Linked DNA regions of Homo sapiens: region 2 is linked to region 1. The links are contacts of gene promoters, found by promoter capture Hi-C in blood cells and fetal thymus (Javierre and others, 2016). All regions are on one chromosome and are shown on one strand. The core of a region is centred on a gene start or on the middle of the fragment in contact, and the rest is flanking DNA. Distances in the headings are between cores, read along the strand shown.

The links. Contacts are between HindIII fragments. The CHiCAGO score rates a contact against its expected background, and 5 or more counts as called.
Region 2: a contact is called between a fragment that was not itself captured here and the fragment with the promoter of YPEL4 in region 1, in 1 of 17 cell types (activated CD4 T cells). The highest score is 6.5, in activated CD4 T cells.

What each region holds. Positions count from the first base shown.
Region 1 is chr11:57,648,405-57,652,955 of GRCh38, reverse strand. YPEL4 (yippee like 4) reads left to right here and starts at 3,044. Exons shown (of 5, transcript NM_145008.3): 1 at 3,044-3,271. MIR130AHG (MIR130A host gene) reads right to left here. Exons shown (of 2, transcript NR_186232.1): 2 at 55-2,658. RefSeq lists an enhancer at 4,533-4,551. The HindIII fragment of the contact is 14,007 bases long and covers 1-4,551 here.
Region 2 is chr11:59,547,290-59,551,807 of GRCh38, reverse strand. TRV-TAC1-1 (tRNA-Val (anticodon TAC) 1-1) reads left to right here and starts at 1,107; the gene lies at 1,107-1,179. All of the region lies in intron 3 of LOC102723575 (a long non-coding RNA gene), which reads right to left. TRV-TAC2-1 (tRNA-Val (anticodon TAC) 2-1) reads left to right here and starts at 749; the gene lies at 749-821. TRR-TCT3-2 (tRNA-Arg (anticodon TCT) 3-2) reads right to left here and starts at 514; the gene lies at 429-514. It also overlaps TRL-TAA3-1. RefSeq lists enhancers at 634-1,135, 1,291-1,510. The HindIII fragment of the contact is 947 bases long and covers 1,888-2,834 here.

The sequences.
Region 1 (4,551 bases), core at 1,795-4,294:
GAAAAATAGCAACAAAAGATGTAATGTCTTCATAAGACAAAAATTTGGCATGTGTCTCTTGAGATATCAGAATTTAATAATAAATCCTCCCTGGGTTTTGGGGGTCATACATTGAGAATGCTGTTTTGGTTTCACTTTTGTTTTTTTGGTTTTGTTTTTTTTTTTGAGACGGAGTCTCTCTTTGTTGCCCAGGCTAGAGTGCAGTGGTCCCATCTTGGCTCACTGCAACCTCCGCCTCCTGGGTTCAAGCGATTCTTCTGCCTCAGCCTCCCAAGTAGCTGTGATTACAGGCATACGCCATCACACCTGGCTAATTTTTTGTATTTTTAGTAGAGAGGGGGGTTTCACCACGTTGTCCAGGCTGGTCTCGAACTCCCAACCTCAGGTGATTCGCCTACCTCGGCCTCCCAAAGTGCTGGGATTACAAGGTGTGAGCCACCTCACCCAGCCAAGAATGCTTTTTTTTTTTTTGAAACAGAGTCTCGCTCTGTCACCAGGCTGGCGCGATCGGCTCACTGCAACCTCTGTGAGTACAGTGGCGCCATCTCAGCTTACCGCAACCTCTGACTTCCTGTTCAAGCGATTCTCCTGCCTCAGGCTCTCGAGTAGCTGGGATTACAGGCACGTGCCACCATGTCCAGCTAATTTTTGTTATTTATTAGGGATGGGGATTTCACCATGTTGGCCAGGATGGTCTCGATCTCCTGACCTTGTGATCTGCCTGCCTCGGCCTCCCAAAGTGCTGGGATTACAGGCGTGAACCACCGCACCTGGCGAGAATGTTGTTTTGAAATGACACTACTGTTTACTGCCTATCATGTGCCAGGCATTTTTCAGGCATTTAAATGTTATCTCACTTTATTCTGCATCTCCATGAGCTAATAATAATAAATATTATTAGCTTCATTTAGCAGAAGAGTAAGACTAAGGCACAAAGATTATCAGTAATTTGCCTAGTGGTTCCTGCCAAGTAATTGGCAGAGCTAAGAGTCTAATTCAGTCTCTTTGAGACCAAAGCCAGACACTTGGTTCATGTCTGAAGATGCAACTCAACTGCTCTATTAATCAGAGTTCTCTAGCGGGATAGAACTAATAGGATAGATGTATATATAAATCAGAGTTATTACGGAATATTGACTCAGATGATCACCAGATGAGGTCCCACAGTAGGCTGCCTGCAAGCTGAGGGGCAAGGAAGCCAGTCCGAATCCCAAAGTTGAAGACCTTGGAGTTCAATATTCGAGGGCAGGAAGCGTCCAGCATGGGAGAAAGACGTAGGCTCAGAGGCTAAACCAGTCTGGTCTTTCCACGTTCTTCTGTCTGCTTTTATTCTGGCCTAGCTGACAGTTGATTACATTGTGCCCATCCAGATTGAGGTGGGTCTGCCTTTCCTAGTCCATTGACTCAAATGTTAATCGCCTTTGGCAATACCCTCACAGACACACCCAGGAACAATACTTTGCATCTTTCAATCCAATCTAGTTGACAATATTAACCATCACCAGTCCACCCCTTGTCAACTTGAACCCATACACGTCTCCTGAAATCATACATGATCTTCAAATAAAGACAATAATAAGGTCATAATTACGCTTAACATAATACAGCTATCCTTTGTACAACCGGAAACGCACCAATCCCCAACCCAAATGCTATTACATAGAGTTAACAACACTTAAGTGCTGATATCAAGTCAGTAAGTCTTATGTCACATGATAAAGGCAAAAGAAAGGAAATAAAATGAAGATATTTTCTTAATACAAGTGTATATATGCACAAACATGTTCCTAACAAAAGGAGGAGGAAATACTCATGACAATTACAGTCCTCATTTTCTGCAGCTGGTCACATGGTCATAGTTCGTATTGATGACTACCTTCTTTGACTACCCATTCTGAATTCCGTTTGCCTTCAGCAAGCACCTCAGCAGATTATGTTTTTTTTACCTGGTGGAGTGACCCAAACCTTCATTCCTGAAGGGTCTGGGCCATTTGTCATCCTGCCTGGATTGGGCTGTTGCAGTTTCCCATTGACCTTAATCACAGGGCATGGTAATATTAAGAGACGCCCTACGTGATCTCCTGTATTCCACGCATACTTCCTTACCGCCATTGTGGAGTAGTAGACTGATTTCATCTTGATAGTCTGGGTCAAACACTGTAACTCCCTTCTTAGCAAGTTGGCTTAAAAGTAAGAAGAGCCCAAAGTGGCCAGGTGGCAATCTTAACTTCCAGTTTAATGGAATCATTGTTGTGTCTCTTGGTGGCAGCATTCCTCCCTCTGGAACTAAGACCTCTAGGCCAGCAGAACATAATGCCGCGGAAACAACTGCTATTTTGGAAACATCTAAATGCACGGGTCTGCACTGGACATTGCAGTCCTGGGATGTAGAGAGTAATTTCCCAGAAGGCCTGTCTCAGGAAGTTTACAGCCCAATAGAGAACTTCATATAACGTAGGTGTCTCCATTCATGAAGCACGCATAATATGGAGGTAGCTGTTAAGGGGTTCCTGCATGCAAAATGTCACATTGGGTCTATTACTCCTTCAGGAGTATTAAACCAAGGCTTTGAGGCTTGGTACAAGTTTGGGGGCACAGTTTGCCATCCATGACAATTAGTACATCTGTCTTTTCCCTGCTTCAGGGCTGGTGTCCAAGCTGAAATGGGAAAGTGTATCATCTTAAATGTGTGTGTGCTCCCTCACTCTGCATCCATCTCTTCCTTCACCAGCCTTGCCACCTCCTTTCCTCCAGCCCTGCCACCCTCACTGCATCCTTGCCCAGCCCTGTCCTTCCCCCAGGTTCTTCGTATCTCCTTGGCCCCACTGCCTTCCTCCTTAACAACCTGCCTCTCCCCTTGCCCACCATCGCCGCCTTGTCCCTCGGCCCCCACTCCTCTAGCCCCGTCCCTTGATGCCTACCCCCTCCCTTCCTTCCGACCCGCCTCCTGTGTCTCCCAGCCCTGCTCTGACGTGGGAGGTGAGGGGGGGTGGGGGGGATGGATGACTCACAGTGTTATGATGCAGTTCCACAACACACAGCCACATTCACCCACAGACCGAGGTACAGAACGAGAGACAACCTCTGCCCCCCCAGCAGCTGGCCAGCTTTGCAGCCCCAGTCTTGAGCCCCCAACTACCCTCCCCCCACCCACCCCCATCCCCTTCCCAATTGAAGGAGCGGAAAGAGAAGAGAGAAGAGTGAGCAGAGAGATTGAGAGATTGAGAGAGAGAGAGAGAGATAGACGGAGATCTCTGGAGCAGACCTCAAGGTGAGGGGGCAGCCCTTCTCCAAATGAATTTTTTTCTCTTTGCAAATTTCCTCCTCCTGCTGCGTGTTGCTTTCTCCCCTTTGCAAAAGCATTATTCATCCACCCTTTGTCCTCCCTTCCCCCTCCCCGCTGCCTCCGCTCCTCTCTCTCGGTTCCTCCATCCCTCTCCAAGCTCTGACGATTCCCGCACTTATTTCCCGGCAACTTTGGCTGCAGCATCAGGCATCACTGTTTATTGTTTTGCTGCTGGTGCAGACCCCCAAAGCCTGCCCTGGGAGCTGGCGGTGCTGCTAATTATTTGGACCATACCATACTGAGAATACCAGCCTGGGGGGTGCCAAAACCTCAGAGCAGATGAGAAAATCCATTGTGAGCAGGTGTCCCCCCCCTTTTCTTTTCCCCCCTGAGAAGCACGAGATTCGCACCTGGTTCCTCCAGCCTCCGCCTCGGCGCCTCTGCTGTCAGCTGTCAGTTGCCCCCGCCAGCCCTCCCTCTCCCCTTTCTCCTACGGTCCAGCCCCGTCTCACTTCAGGGGAACATCTCTCCCCAGCACTCGGCTTGCCTTTGTTTTTTCTCCAGTCATTTGCCCAACTTGCTTCTCCCTGTGATCCGAGATGGGTGAAAAAATGACCCCTACTCCCCTTTGTGATTCTCTGGCCTTCTGTGCAGCCTTTCCTTGGCTTGACTGGGAATTAGGGGAGAGGGAGGGAGGCGTGACGGCCGGAGGCTGGAGAAGGAGCTCAGGATTGGGGACCCAAGCTGCCCCATTCTCCATGCCCCTTGAAGAAGGTGTTTCAAGGTGGTGCATGTCAGAGGGGAACTCGCTGGCAAAGTTGAAGGCAAACCTGTGAAGCAGAGACTGAAAGGTGGTCTCTTGGCAAGGAGGGCCCGTTTCCTGCAGCCGGAGCCCAATGTCACCCTGAACTCAGCCCAAGGTGTCTTCCTGGGACCCAGCCCGGAGGAGAGGACCTGAAACTGAAGATAGTCTCTATGGAGGTTTTGCGGAGAGACTGCCTGGCGGCCTTCAGAGAGAGTGGAACAGCTGGGTGCCTGTGGCCACTGCGGAGGACAGGACGAGGAGAGCCTGTATGCCCTGGCTAACCAGAGCCAACACTGCCTCTTCTCTGCTTAGTGCTCTAGCATTGCCAGAGTGCCCAGCTGGCATCTCTGAACCAGACTTAGGCTAACCACCCACAGTGGGCTGGGAAGCCCTATGAAGGAGAAAGCAGCAGCTCACCTGCTTATCGGAGCCAACAGGGGCCACCTCCCTTCTTATCCTC
Region 2 (4,518 bases), core at 1,112-3,611, 1.9 Mb before region 1:
TATGAATCCATTGGATCTTAAGTCCAACGCCTTAACCACTCGGCCATTCTGGTAACTGATAAAACAATGTTTTATTTTAAAGCAACTCGGGTAACACTAGGCGACTAAAGTTTCGGAACAATTTAAAATTACTTTTTTTCCTGATATAAAAGAATAATATGGGGAAAAAACTTGGTAACTTTGATTATATTTCCCTAATTTCTTTATCTCGCCACTAGAAACTGGGGCCAGGTAAAAGTGAAGGAGAAAAGGCTCGATAGAGGAACGGGATTCTTTACGCCTTCAAGTGAAGGGACATAACCAGGAACTGCAATTAGCTGCAATTCACATCATTCCGGAAATTTTAAATGGTAGACAGTTCTCGTTTCATCTATTTTATATCCATTCCCTCCGCCTAACTTTCCGTTTGCTCTTCTTCAAACAAAAAGCGACTCTGGTGGGACTCGAACCCACAACCTTTGAATTTCTCTAACTATCTAGAAGTCCAATGCGCTATCCATTGCGCCACAGAGCCAGACACGTGCGACCTCTCCGCGATGAACACATCAGGGGAGGCACTTTCTTTCCACAAGTAAGTGTGGAACCTTTGTCTCTAAAGAGAGCGTGGGTAGGAATTACACTGGAAAGTCTGTAATCCTGGTGAAAGTTTCTCTTTTCGTGATCGCTGAGCAGTAAATCCCTTTCAGTCCACGTTGTTAACATGTCTTTATGCAGAATTGCTAAATCCAGAGACAGCCATTCCGCACGCGGTTCCATAGTGTAGCGGTTATCACGTCTGCTTTACACGCAGAAGGTCCTGGGTTCGAGCCCCAGTGGAACCACGGCGTGATTCATACCTTTTTCTTTTCTTTCCTTTCTTTATAATGTTTAGTATTAACATTTTGCGAGCCCAATCGTGGGTTTTGGTTCAGGAAGCTGGAGACGCAGACATTTTGACAATGTTTCTGTGCGGTCGTGCTCCTCTGAATACTGGAAAATGAGGAATCCTTTTGAAAGTTTTTCTCTGTGCACAATCGCCGGATGTCAAGTCTACATGACCATTTCCCAGTGCCAAAATGTCTTTTTGAACAATTATCAAATCCTGGAGGAACGTTTTAGTCGTGTGGGGTTCCATAGTGTAGTGGTTATCACGTCTGCTTTACACGCAGAAGGTCCTGGGTTCGAGCCCCAGTGGAACCATGAGATGTTACCTAGCGTTTTGTGAGCCAGGTGTTGGGTTTTGCACCAGGAAGCTGGCGACGAACCCGTGTCTCAAGAATTTCTACGGCTTGTTTCCCGCCTGCTGCATCAGCCCGGTTTCTCTTAGCGCTCGGCGCTGAGTCGGCCTCCGCGGCGGCCCCCGTATGGCGCCTCTCTGGAGGTGCAGGCGGCTCCGCTCCACCGAGGCTTCGCTCGCCCCTGCGCCTGCGCCTTTCCACTACCTGGCCAGCCGGCTTCTGGGTTCCTGGGTGTTGCCCCTTGGCTCACCTACCTTCTCCTAAGCCTTGCTTGGGCCATCTCTAAAAATTGCCACCACTAAGTCGAAGGACATCACGAAGGCCGCCCTCATACTTTATTTATTTAAATTAAAAATGCTTTTTGAGGCCAGGCGCGGTGGATCATGCCTGTAATCCCAGCACTTTGGGAGGCTGAGGCGGGCGGATCACGAGGTCAGGAGATCGTGTCCATCCTGGCTAACACGGTGAAACCCCGTTTCTACTAAAAATACCAAAAAAATTAGCCAGGCGTGGTGGCGGGTGCCTGTAGTCCCAGCTACTCTACTCGGGAGGTTGAGGCAGGAGAATGGCGTGAACCCGGCAGGCGGAGCTTGCAGTGAGCCGAGATCGCGCCACTGCACTCCAGCCTGGGAGAGAGCCGTCTCAAAAAAAAAAAAAAAAAAAAAAAGCTTTTTGAAAAATTAATTTCATGCACAGAATTCAGAATCCCTCCACGTATTTCACAACTGATGTTTCCATCCCATCTTTCAATGGTTAGCTGTTTCTTTTGTGACCCTTCAGAAATTGTCTATGCATTCACCAGTATACACGTACATTTACTTTAAAACCCACTTCACGCTTTTTGTACGAAGGTAGCACACATAGGTACCGCTCCCATTTCCTCAACAATATTCTGAAAATCTTCCTATTTCGTTCATACATCTTCGCTTATCCTTTTACTTCCTGTGTTTGGATATATCACAATTCTTTATGCCTTTTGATGAACACTTAAATTGTATCTAGTCTTAGGAACAATGCTGAGCAGATTTCCTTGTTCCTTGGTTTCAGGCAGGGCAATATGTAAAATAATCCTAGCAAAACCTTGAACAGGCACTTACATGGGTAGCTAACTTAATGTTCACAATGTCTCTATTATTATTTATCCCGTTTTACAGACGAGGGAGAGGAAGCATAATGAGATTAAGAAATGGCCCAGGGTTACACCCCTGGTCAGGGACAGAACACAGTACCAACCCAAGCAAGAAGAGTGTTGCCTTTATGTCTCAGAAGAAATTTAATTGATGGCTGGGCGCACTGGCTCACACCTGTAATCCCAGCACTTTGGGAGGCCGAGGTGGAAGCATGGCTTGAACCCAGGAGTTTGAAACCAGCTTGGGCAAAAAAGTGAGACGCCCTCTGCAAACCCGTCCCACCAACCTCCCTGCTCGTCCCCACCAACCCTGCCACAGCTCCTTTCAAAACAGCTTGTATCAAATTACACTCACACCAATATGAAAGCCCTTGTTCTTCCTGTCTCTCTCAAATGAAAATAACTGAATTTTGAGTCAGCTGGAAATGGTTTATTTTGTGTTTTTTTATTGTGAGTTAGGTTGAACGTTTTTCATGTACTTAAAAGCTTCCTTTCTTCCTACTATCTGTTCACCTCTTTTGTTCAATTTTCTTATGTATATATTCTGTTAATTTATGTTTAAATTGGTTTTTAGGCCGGGCGCAGTGGCTCACGCCTGTAATCTGAGCACTTTGGGAGGCCGAGGAGGGCGGATCATGAGGTCAAGAGATCGAGACCATCCTGGCCAACATGGTGAAACCCTGTCTTTACTAAAAATACAAAAATTAGCTGGGTGTGGTGGCATGCACCTGTAATCCCAGCTACTCAGGAGGCTGAGGCAGGAGAATCGCTTGAACCTGGGAGGCGGAGGTTGCGGTGAGCCGAGATCGTGCCACTGTACTCTAGCCTGGTGACAGAGCGAGACTCCGTCTCTAAATAAATAAATAAATAAATAGGTTTTTAGGTGCTCTTTGTAAATTCAGATTTAGGATATATTTTGCAAATGTATCCAGAGTTGCCATTTGTCTTTTGATTATATTTTTGATATTCCGTGCGATGTAGAAATTAAACATTTTTTTGAAGTCAATTTCATCATCTTTTTGGGGGGGGTGCAGGAGAGGGGCTTTTAACATTTCCTGCCTAGAAAATACTTACTCACTTTGAGATTATATTTCAAAAATTATTCTATATTTTCTCCTGATTGTTGTATAGTTAAACATTTTCTAATGTTTCAACCTTCTGTCAGAGGCCTTGGAACCAGAGCAACTGCATCTTGAATAGGGGCTGGGTAAAATAGGGCTGAGACCTACTGGGCTGCATTCCCAGGAGATTAAGGCATTCTAAGTCACAGGATGAGATAGGAGGTCGGCACAAGATACAGGTCATAAAGACCTTTCTGATAAAACAGGCTGTGGTAAAGAAGCTGGCCAAAACCCACAAAACCAGGATGGCAAAGAGAGTGACCTCTGGTGCCCTCACTGCTCATTATATGCTAATTATACTGCATTAACATGTTAAAAGACACTCCCACCAGCACCATGACAGTTTACAGATGCCATGACAATGTCAGGAAGTTACCCTATATGGTCTAAAAAGATGAGGAACTCTCAGTTCTGGGAATTGTCCCCCACTTTCCCAGAAAACTCATGAATAATCCACCCCTTGTTTAGCATATAATCAGGAAATGACCATAAAGGTGGACAGCCAGCAGCCCTAGTGGGCTGCTCTGCCTAAGGAGTAGTGATTCTTTATTCCTTTGCTTTTTTTTCTTTTTCTTTTTCTTTTTCTTTTTTTTGGTGATGGAGTCTTGCTTTGTCGCCCAGGCTGGAGTGCAGTGGTGCAATCTCGACTCACTGTAACCTCCACCTCCTGAGTTCAAGTGATTCTCCTGCCTCAGCCTCCTCAGTAGCTGAGACTACAGGCACGAGCCACCACGCCGGGCTAATTTTTGTATTTTTAGTAGAGATGGGGTTTCACCATGTTGGCCAGGCTGGTCTTGAACTCCTTGACCTCAGGTGATTTACTCTCCTTGGCCTCCCAAAGTGCTGGGATTACAGGCATGAGCTACCGCGCCTGTCCTATTCCTTTACTTTCTTAATACACTTGCTTTCACTTTACTTTATGGACTTGCCCTGAATTCTTTCTTGTGCAAGATCCATGAACCCTCTCTTGGGGTCTGGATTGGGACCCCTTTCCGGTACCACTTTGATCCATATGAAATTTCTATAACTGGCATGAGATAGGAAAGATGGA